Regions from separate parts of the Homo sapiens genome. Here regions 2 and 3 are each linked to region 1. The links are contacts of gene promoters, found by promoter capture Hi-C in blood cells and fetal thymus (Javierre and others, 2016). All regions are on one chromosome and are shown on one strand. The core of a region is centred on a gene start or on the middle of the fragment in contact, and the rest is flanking DNA. Distances in the headings are between cores, read along the strand shown. Region 1 holds the start of HMX2 (H6 family homeobox 2). Region 2 overlaps BCCIP (BRCA2 and CDKN1A interacting protein). Region 3 overlaps EDRF1 (erythroid differentiation regulatory factor 1).

Region 1 (3,501 bases), core at 341-2,840:
TAGGGAAGAGTTCTGCCACGGGCAGGGCCGCAGTCGGTAACTCACCGCGGCTAATGATATTATAAGCGCTTTACTTAATAACCCGGGCGCGGTGCAGGCGAGGAAGGAACTGCACAGTCATGCAGTGTCTGGACATTTGTGGGGACTGATTCCAGAGTCTCCACTCACCCTTGGCTGCACTTGGGGGGCACCCTAAAGACAGGGCTTCTGGAATCTCTTGGCCAAGAGGTCTAGAGGTCACAGCTTGAGGGGACGGGGTTGCCTGAGCACTTCGGGCCTTGCCTCACTTCAGTTTCCAGGAAGCTTGTGCAGACGACTGTGGCCCCAAACCGCTTTGCTTGGCTGGGCTAATTCTAGCTCGGGTAACAGCTGATCTAGGAATTAAAGGGGCGAGAGCCAGGGCACAGAAGGGGGCTATGAGAACACAGAGGGAATCACTATTTACTGAGCACCACGGTGTGCCAGGCTCGGTGCTGGGTAGTTTGACCTCACAACAGCCTCTGCGAGGGAGGCACTGCTTCCTCCAATTTTAGGAATAAAGAAACCGAGCCTCAGAATTTCCAAATGTCTTCCCCCAAGATCACCCAGCCGAGAATTGAGTCGAGTCTGCTCAATTCTAAAACCGAGTCCTGTCACCAGTTCCTTATCTTCTTCCTGGGAGTAAGGCGTCTATTTCTGCAGCAGTTCGGAAACCTTCAAAATTTACAAAACAAAAACACAGATTCGCTTAAAACACGGGTGGGCCATGGGCTACCCGGCCAGGTTTATGGAGTACCTACTATGCGCTGCTAGTGCTTCGAGGCTTTTAATCCCTACCTGAGGCAATCCGAGAAGTTATTTTCAACTATGAGGGCAGAGAGGCTTTAATCGGCATGAGTTGTGCAAGTTCATGCAGTGTGTAAATAGTTGTGCCGGAATTTGAACCCAGATCTCTTGACTAGAGGTCTTAGGGCTTCCTCCCTCCCCCTAAAGATTCTGTAGGTCCGTAGAACCTGTGACAGGGATGAGGTCTGCAGACGGGGAAGGGGAATGTCTGCTCCCAAGGCTCCTGGCCATGCTGGAGAGGATGAGCGTCCGCCTGGAGACGCCTGCTCCTAACCCACCTCACCCCCACGCAGGGCGCCACGGTCCCAGGAGTGCCGGCTTTGCCCGCCCACTGGGGCTAGAAGGGGTGGAGGGCTGGGGGAGGATGGTGGAGCAGCCTGTACAAGCCCCTGGGAGGCGCGGAGACCCGTCGCCTGCGGAGGCGTCGAGCCACTCCAGCTCCGAGTCCCGCACCGCCCCTGCCTCTGGAGAGAAGGGTCCAAGGGGTCCAAGGAGTCGGAGTTGCCGCAGCCGCCAGGAACCCGGGCTAGAATCTGCAGCTGCTTTCAGCCCTGGCTGCCCCTGGTTAGACGCCGCTGATGCCCGCCAGGCCCTCGGCGCGCTCTGGGGGCGCACCGGTGCTGTGTGCCTGGCCGGAGCGTTTTGAAATTTTCCGGGGCCGCTCGGCGGCGCTGCGATTGGCCGCGTTCGGGTAACCTCTATGCAAATGAGGCCGCGCCGCCTCCGCGCCGCCGGAGACCCGGCGAGTTGGCGGGCGAGGAAGGGGCATTTGCACCGGGGCTGGGCGGGCGCACCCAGAGCCAGGCGGGCAGGAACCCCTGCGCAGCCATCCGGTGCCTGCATGTCCCTGGCGCGGAAGGGACGCCTCACCAGCCTCGGCGCCCCCTCCCCCTAGATTTCCTCCCCGCCCCTCCCCACTGCCTGCCTGCTGCACCACCTTCCACCCAGATCACCCAGATCGTCTCTAAAGGGAGTTCTTGGTTTCCTTCGATTTCTTATGAACCCAGGATGGGCAGCAAAGAAGATGCGGGCAAGGGGTGTCCGGCGGCCGGTGGCGTCTCCAGCTTCACCATCCAGTCCATCCTGGGCGGGGGCCCCTCGGAGGCACCGCGGGAGCCCGTCGGCTGGCCAGCCAGGAAGCGCAGCCTGTCCGTGTCCTCGGAGGAGGAGGAGCCGGACGACGGCTGGAAGGCGCCCGCCTGCTTCTGCCCAGACCAGCACGGCCCTAAGGAGCAGGGCCCCAAGCACCATCCCCCCATCCCTTTTCCTTGCCTGGGTAAGGATCGCACGTCGCCAGTGTGGCAGCGAGCGAGCGCGAGGGGAGGGAGGCTGAGCGCCCCGCCAAGACTCCCGCGCCGGGCCCCCTCTGGCCAGAGCTGCGGCAGCCGGGGGTTCGGGACCGCGGGGAGAGGGGCGCGCACTGTGGTGCCTCCTCCGCCCGGTGGGCCCCTGGGAGCAGGCGAACACAGACCCGTGCCGGCTTGGGCTTCCTGGGGAAGGTTGAGTTGTTGAGAGAGTGGACCACAGCGAGAGGGACACGCGGCCGGCCTTACACCCGGCTGTCCTCAATCACTGCACATCTGGTACTTTCTTTCCGGACACGAGGTGGAGATCTGCAAGTCGGGTCTGGGCAGTCTGTCTCCACCGTAATCTCTTTCTGAGTCTTCTTCCTCACTCGCTCCGTATCTCTGCCTTTCTCTCTCTCTCCTCCTTGGAATGATTAGCACTCCAAGATGATTGACAATGGTGCATTTCAGAGACGGTTCCTCTTTACAACATTTGACGAAGGGGAGTCCTGCGTTAGTCCTTAGCGTGATTTCCAAACAAACGGCCTGTGAAATGATGCCACCCTATAAAGCTCGAGGAACTCTTCCAGCTCAATTACCACCAAGCAAATTCGCCTTTTAAAACCATGCTAATGTTTCCCCCTCCAGACCTCCTCTCCCTGTTGCCCCTGGCCCATTCATAAAGGTGGGAGCACAGAGACCCCATACTCCAAGTAGCTGGGTCCCTCTCTTGTCGCTTTTAAAGGACGGGGTGCTGGGTTTGGGGGGCCAGTGAGAGGGATAAGAGGAGGGGATTGGTAAGGTGGGACCAAGGCTGCAGGCGCTTGCCAACCGCTTGGTCCCAGGGAGAGCTGGCGGTCTCCGAGGCTCCCCAACCAACTCCATGGCCTTTCTGTCTGTTCTCGCTCCTCAGGTACCCCCAAGGGCAGCGGAGGCTCGGGCCCGGGCGGCTTGGAGCGCACGCCTTTCCTCTCTCCTTCGCACTCGGACTTTAAAGAAGAGAAAGAGAGGCTCCTGCCCGCGGGCTCGCCCTCGCCGGGGTCCGAGCGGCCGCGGGACGGCGGCGCTGAGCGGCAGGCCGGCGCGGCCAAGAAGAAGACGCGCACCGTCTTTTCGCGCAGCCAGGTGTACCAGCTCGAGTCCACCTTCGACATGAAGCGCTACCTGAGCAGCTCGGAGCGCGCCTGCCTCGCCTCCAGCCTGCAGCTCACGGAGACCCAGGTAAAGACTTGGTTCCAGAACCGCCGCAACAAGTGGAAGCGGCAGCTCTCGGCTGAGCTGGAGGCGGCCAACATGGCGCACGCGTCGGCGCAGACTCTGGTGAGCATGCCGCTGGTGTTCCGGGACAGTTCGCTGCTGCGCGTGCCGGTGCCGCGCTCGCTCGCCTTTC
Region 2 (3,501 bases), core at 356-2,855, 2.7 Mb after region 1:
ATTTAGAAAATATTTGGGAGATGAAATATGATGAGGTTTAGTCCCTGATTGGGTCTGAAAGTGAGAGGAAAAGGAGTCAAGGATGACTTCCAGGTTTCTAGCTTGAGCAAACAGGATAACAAACATGGAGGAAGGTCAAATTAGGAGGGGGAATGTGAATTTGGATTTGTACATTTTGAGTTTGAGTTACCTGTGAGATACCGGGTAGCAGGTGGAGCCCTGGAGACTTGGGAGTTGGTCGTAAATGTTACTGAGGTCGTAGAAGTGATTGAGATTGCGCAGGGAGGGAAGGGACAGACACCTTAGTAATACCAAGAATACTTCGATGAGTAATATAAGTGGCAGAGCCAGCAAAGGAGATTAAAAGGGATGACAGGAGAAGTAGAAGAAACAATAGTGCAGTGATGTCATACACAGCAAGAAAGATAACATTTGAAGGAGGAGGGGATGGTCATCTTTATCAGATAGATGTTGTAGAGAGCTCAACAAAATAAGGACTGGTTTAGACCCTGGGTCTGCTGCTTATCATCTGGTGGTTCTTTGGGTTATCTGTTGTTTGTATAACAAACCACCCCATAGCTTAGTGTCGTAAAATAGCAGTAGTCATTTATTTGGCTAATGGATCTACAGTTTGGACAGAGCTCAGTGGGCACAACTCATCTGTGCTCCTGCTCCATCATGTTAGCTGGGGTGGCTTGACTAGGGGCTGGAGGATTCCCTTTCAAGATGGCTCACTCACATGACTGGCAAGTTAGCCCTAGCTGTCTGTCGGGAGCTTAGCTGGGACTCTGGACCAGGGGCCTTAGTTCTTCTCCATGTGGGCCTCGTCACACATTGGTTTGCTTCCAAGAGCAAGCTGCCCAAAAGAAGCAGGCAGAAGTGATATAGTGCCATTTCCACCATTTGCTTAGTCTTTACAGATAGAAATTTCTATCTAGGGGGAGGGCACATTGATCCCACCACTCCATGAGAAAAGTACCTAGGTCACTTTGTCAGAAGAGCATGTCCAAGGAGAGATCCATTGGGGCCATCTGTGAAAGATACAGTCTGCCACAGTACCTTAATCTGTTTCCATTTCTGTCTCTGAAAATGAGGATGGTACTAGCACCGATCTTGTAGAGTGCATGGGTAAACAAAATGAATTGCTGACTGCTTAAAACAGTGTCTGGCAGCTGACATGTGCTACATATGTGTAGCTGTCACTGTTGATGTCTTTTTCCTGTTCCTAGCACCTGTTCCCTAGCCTGTTGTGAAAAACACAACAAACAAAAGCTCCATTCAGTCTAATGTTCCACTCTTAAGTACATCACCTTCAGAGCCAAAATTCTTGAAAAGTAATCTTAAGTCATGGTTTCTACTTCCTGTCCTCCTATTCATTCTTCAGACACTCTTATCTGACTTTTACACCACTAAAATTCGGACACTGAGTGATAGGGTCACCAACATACTTGTTACTAAATACAGTGTACACTTTTCAAGGCTTCTGACAATATTAGTAACTTTATGGCACTCAATGTAAAGAAAATGAGAAATTAAACCTATGGGGCATTCCTTTTATTAGGGCAATGGGAAAAAGCAGACCACCTGCCCTTTCATCAAATAAATGTGATCTCTAGCTGATTCGTGTCTTAGAAGACCTAATGGATATGGAGGAGAAGCAGTTATTTTTATCCTTGAAAGAGGTTATTATCTAATGGCAGGATTCACTCTTTAAATGGATAATCACATCAATAGCTCTGCAGTTGTAACTGTGGCTTCTTGGGATTCTCCAGAGACACTTGAGGTGTCCTGAGGATAGAGACTTCTTGTTCTTAGTAAAGGGACTACCCATAGTGTTCGGTGGAGCCAGTCCCTAGGATCATAGAACAAAGGGCAGGGGGTTCTCTTTTTTCCCCTTCTCTCTTGCTAATGTGATAGGTGTAAGTGGCCCTCAAGCATTGCCTAGCTTCACTAATGGTCAAGACTGACAAGTGTTCTGGAAACTCATGAGTTTTAGATGAAACAATGCTGTGGGCCAGCAGAGAAGCAAGGCTTGGCTCCAGCCTAATTGTGTAGAAAACAAATGAAAATGCTTTATTTCATGAGGTTTATCTCTTCTGGATTTGTATTATATTGAGAATCTGATAAAAGAAAATGACTTAATCTGGTACAAAGAAATTTCAATCTGTTCAGAATCTGAAAAGAGGAACAGAGTCGAGGTAAAGCGAAATGAACAAGGTCACACAGTATTTAAGATACAATGCTTTCCAAGATGATGGTGGTAAAACTGTGACAGTATTTAAAATACAATGCTTTCTAAGATGGCGGTGGTAAAACAAAGTTTTGCTTTTGAAAAGTGAAAAGATAAATGAGGCCTACATCCCAAGACTTGGTTTTATACTCTTGGTATTATACTAAATATAACATTTAAATATTTTTTCTTTTAAAATAGCAAACGGATGTTTCAGAAGACAGCAATGATGATATGGATGAAGATGAGGTTTTTGGTTTCATAAGCCTTTTAAATTTAACTGAAAGAAAGGTTGGTTTCACTGGATGGCATCTGAATGGTTATTTCTTAGGCCAAAACCACTTTTATTTAATGCATGGTGAAAATGTCTTTTATGTTAAACAGTGATATTAACTATAGGGATAAGTGCTCTTGTGAAATCTTATTGTAATCCTTTTTCAATATGAAGGTGGTGGTGTTGGGTCTGTACCCAGTTAAAGTTGTTTACTCCCTGTGGTTTAGGGAATCATCTGGCTTTGCAGTCCTGATGTTGGTACTGATGCAGGAGCTGTTTGTGCTGTCTCTCTGCAGCTGTTATCTTTGCTACTTGTGTAGTGGGGATATTCTCAGGCTTTGCTGCCTCAATGTTGAGGGCATTTACTGACATTTTATTTTGTTTCGATTCATCTCTTTTTATTGATTCTCTGATGAGTTGTAATAAAAAGTAAACCAGCTGCTTACCCACCTCAGAATAAGATGCAGGCTACACTTAGTCTTTAATTTTGAAATAAACTGTCCAGTTACTTCCATCTATCTTTATGAGATGGACTAGAGTTGCCATTCCAGTGTGTCTGAATGTTAATTATGACTCTCTTACCACTCATCATGGGATGGTAAATAACCAGTGTATTTACTTTTGAGAAATGCTTAAGCAGTCAACACTGAAGACATACAAGACGTTAAGGCTATGGCAGGAAACTGCCCTTAGCTGTAAGATGAAAAGTGATAGCTTTTACTCTCAGGTTTTGTCCTCTATGTGATGGCTTGTAATAGGAAACAAGCTTTCTCTTTGCTTTCTAGGGTACCCAGTGTGTTGAACAAATTCAAGAGTTGGTTCTACGCTTCTGTGAGAAGAACTGTGAAAAGAGCATGGTTGAACAGCTGGACAAGTTTTTAAATGACACCACCAAGCCTGTGGGCCTTCTCCTAAGTGAAAGATTCATTAATGTCCCTCCACAGATCGCTCTGCCCATGTACCAGCAGCTTCAGTAAGAGATTCTGGGAAAATATCT
Region 3 (3,501 bases), core at 633-3,132, 2.6 Mb after region 1:
TTTAATCTATCTCTCTTGAGTAAGATCTAAATGTGATTCGCTTCTTATAGTAGCTATGATCATTAGCCAAAGCAAGCCACCCAATGAGGCGTGTTATTATTTGTATTGGCCTAATAATTCACAATGGTAGATTTGAAGTGTGTGCTTTGAATATTTAGGTGATACTCTCAAAAGTGGGTCAATTTTAAGAAATGTTGACAGCAGAATCACTCCTTATCCTTGCACTTTTCACAGGGAAGTGAGCCTCTTGAACCCTCATACATAGTGGGGCATGTGGCCTCAGCCCCCAAAGAACAAAACCTGATTACTTTATTCAATGACGGGGAGCACAGTCAGGTATGCTTTCCATGGTGTCCAAGGTGACAGCAAATCCCCAGTCTACTTTGTCATTTCAAAACTAGCCTAAGTCGAAATTGATAGGGAAAAACTCCACTTGATCCTGAAACTGCTTTCTAAGCATCTTTGTGATCTTAGCTCTGGGGCCTGACTTTGTCTTCTTTGTCTCTTCCTTTTTCTAGTCTTTTTATGGATCATGGGGGGAAATTACAGATTGACTGTTTATTATAATCCTCCCTATTTTAAATCACAGGGTCTTAAAAATGATTTTGTTCGGAATATTCTATGGACATTTGAAGATATCCATATGTTGGTCGGCTCCAACATGCCCATATTTGGAGGAGGCAGATACCCAGCAGTCAGCTTACGTCTCAGGTGAACTAACATCATACCCCTCCTCAAGCTTATGGTATTTAAATTCTTCCTTTAGAATCAGTGTTCCATCAGACTGAGGTTGCAGTGAGCCAAGATCATGCTACCGCACTCCAGCCTAGGCGAAAGAGCAAGACTCGTCTCAAAAAAGAATCAGTGTTCCATCTATTTGGGCATCTTCCTCTTTCTCTAGGTTTTTTCCCCTCCCTCCTTCCCCTGCCAGTTGAAATGGCCACATTAAGGAAGGAGCTACTGTCAGCAGATGCTGAAAGGCAGGCCTATAGCTGAGTCTTCATTCTAGACCTCATTGAATAGAGCCAGAGGTTTGTTGGACTGGCCTAGTCTTAGGTCTGAATCTACAACTTGTGAGAATATTCAAGAGAGTTTATTTAATTAGTTAGATTCCTACTAACTACTTGTGAGCATTTTTCTTAATGCTCCACGTGTATTTGTTGATATTAGCCAATGTGAATTCCAACTTAAGCATGGTCTTGTATGGTGTTCAGTCTTTCTTCAAGTTGTGTGTGAGGAGCAGGCAGTAGGCTCACCGTCCTTTCCTATTATATTGTCTTCTATTCTTACTGAAAACTTACCAATGTCAGTTAGAAATACAAGCAAGCTTTTGGAAAGATGTTAAATATAGCACAACCACTGAGCTGCATGTGCATATCTTATCAGAAAAGAAAGCATAGATGGCATTTTCTATCTAGAGAGGACAGCTTAAGATACTTAAATGGTGAAATAACTTTCAGATGATTAATTAAGGAACATCTTAATTAAACCAAATAACACTAGAAATGTATATTTTTAGGGATAACAACAAACCAATTAATGTGCTAACTGGAATTGACTATTGGTTGGACAACTTGATATGCAATGTGCCAGAGCTTGTGATGTGTTTTCATGTAAATGGAATTGTACAGGTAAGATACAGTGTGATTTTTCTGATCTCTCAAATGCAAATTGGTACAGAGAGTTCCTCACCAAAGTCTTTACGGCCCTGAAGTACTAAGGTGCATTTTTGCCAGGGAAGATAGCTGTGAATAAACTGAATTTGAGTGTACATTTAAGTTGGTGATAACAGAATTGTAGATGTTATAGAAGTATAATTTTACAGGTAATTTGGAGGAAGTTCATAAATATATGAAAACCTGCATTTGTAGCCATAGAACTCTAATTTTAATGCCAAGCTCTCATTAATAATTAACTGAAAGTGTCTACACAATGGAGGCGTTTCTTCGTTATGCAAATATCTACTCAGTACATGCAAAGTTTTAGGGAAAGGTCTTGTAAAAATTGCATATGGTGGATAGCTTATATAGCAAATTCTTATTGAGCATATTCTGTTTAGAAGACACGTATCCCCATTATAAGTGTTGGGGGAAGCTAGGCGTGTTGGCTTATTCCTGTAATCCCAAGCTACTCAGGAGACTGAGGCAGCAGGATCACTTGAAGCCGAGAGTTCAAGACCAACCTGGGCAACGTAGTGAGACCCTAATTGTAGAAAAACAACGCACACACTTAGTTGGGCATGGTGGTACATGTCTGTAGTCCCAGCTACTTGGGGGCTTGAAGCAGGAGGATCACTTGAGCCCAGGAGTTTGAGGCTGCAGTGAGCTATGATCGTGCCACTGCACTCCAGTATGAGTGACAGAGCAAGACCCTGTCTCAAAAAAATAAAAAAATTGAGAATTTAAACAATAAATAATTGTTGAAGGAAAACAAAGAATAAGCTTGGTTGTTATTCAGAAAGAGATAATCTAATGGGAAATAATATGCAGAGAGAACAGTAGGAGACAGATAAGAATTAGAAGTGTAGCACACAGAAATCTAGATCATCAGAGAAGGGGGTGAGCACTTCCATTCAGGTCTGGAGGAAAGACTTTGTGGAAGAAGGGACATCTTAACTGAGTCCTGAATGATAGCTAGTATCTCAAAAAATAAGAGCTGGATTTTAAAAGTCTAGTGTAAATACATGAAAGGATTGATAATAAATCCAGCTAGGGAACACAGGATTTATGTAGCAGAATAGCTGCAAGTAAGGTTGGAAAAGTCATGGTCAAATGATGGAGATCTTAAATGTTGAGCTAAGGAGTATGGACTTGGTTCAGTTGGTAATCTGGAATCAGAAGGCTTTGCATCTAGGAGGGGAAATTTGTTGTGTTAGAATATTAATTTAGAGATAGCATATAGGACAGAAAAGGAGGACTTAGAGACAAGAAAACCAGAGGCATTGTACCATTTTGCAGATAGTGTAATGTACTTTCCACTAGAGAGGAACTATTAAGAATCAACAATGGTAAGAATAGATAGCATTTATTGAGTGCTTATTTTATCCAAGCACTTTGCTGAATGCTTTAAATGCTTTACCTTATTTGATCTTCTTAGCTACCTCACATGCTGTTATTCCTATTTGATGGAAAGAGAGACTGAGGATCAAGGAGCTCAAGTGAGTTGCCCAGGGTCAACTTAGTAGTGAGTGGCGGTGCCAGTCTTTGTGCCTCTCTCTGGCTGAGGACATGCTTTGAACCGTTATATTCCAACCCAGTGATTCTTAACCTGGTTGTGCATCAGAATCACTTGTGGTCTCTGAAAAAATGCACTTGCTTGGGCCCCCAGTGTTCTAGTATCAGTAGGATGTGTACTTCTGTCTTTTCTGAAAGTCTGCTGTATGATTCTGGTTTGCAGTCTTGATTGAAAACCACTGTTAGACCATCTCCCTAAATGGCAACATTTAGTGAGAGGCTGGGGTGGGAGTGGGGAGCAAGAGAAAAGAGAGAGGCAGATAAAGCG

What was found. The method cuts DNA at HindIII sites, captures the fragments that hold promoters and counts their contacts. A CHiCAGO score of 5 or more calls a contact.
Region 2: a contact is called between a fragment that was not itself captured here and the fragment with the promoter of HMX2 in region 1, in 1 of 17 cell types (monocytes). The highest score is 5.4, in monocytes.
Region 3: a contact is called between a fragment that was not itself captured here and the fragment with the promoter of HMX2 in region 1, in 1 of 17 cell types (neutrophils). The highest score is 6.2, in neutrophils.

What each region holds. Positions count from the first base shown.
Region 1 is chr10:123,146,546-123,150,046 of GRCh38, forward strand. HMX2 (H6 family homeobox 2) reads left to right here and starts at 1,591. Exons shown (of 2, transcript NM_005519.2): 1 at 1,591-2,101; 2 at 3,025-3,501. The coding sequence starts at 1,834. RefSeq lists silencers at 1,461-1,780, 2,171-2,300, 3,408-3,501. The HindIII fragment of the contact is 9,748 bases long and covers 302-3,501 here.
Region 2 is chr10:125,828,131-125,831,631 of GRCh38, forward strand. It overlaps BCCIP (BRCA2 and CDKN1A interacting protein), which reads left to right. Exons shown (of 7, transcript NM_078468.3): 4 at 2,432-2,521; 5 at 3,290-3,477. Among named protein-coding and RNA genes, the nearest start is that of BCCIP, 6.3 kb to the left of the region's middle. The HindIII fragment of the contact is 3,325 bases long and covers 1-3,268 here.
Region 3 is chr10:125,728,769-125,732,269 of GRCh38, forward strand. EDRF1 (erythroid differentiation regulatory factor 1) reads left to right here. Exons shown (of 25, transcript NM_001202438.2): 7 at 235-336; 8 at 590-711; 9 at 1,520-1,631. Among named protein-coding and RNA genes, the nearest start is that of EDRF1, 11 kb to the left of the region's middle. The HindIII fragment of the contact is 1,114 bases long and covers 1,326-2,439 here.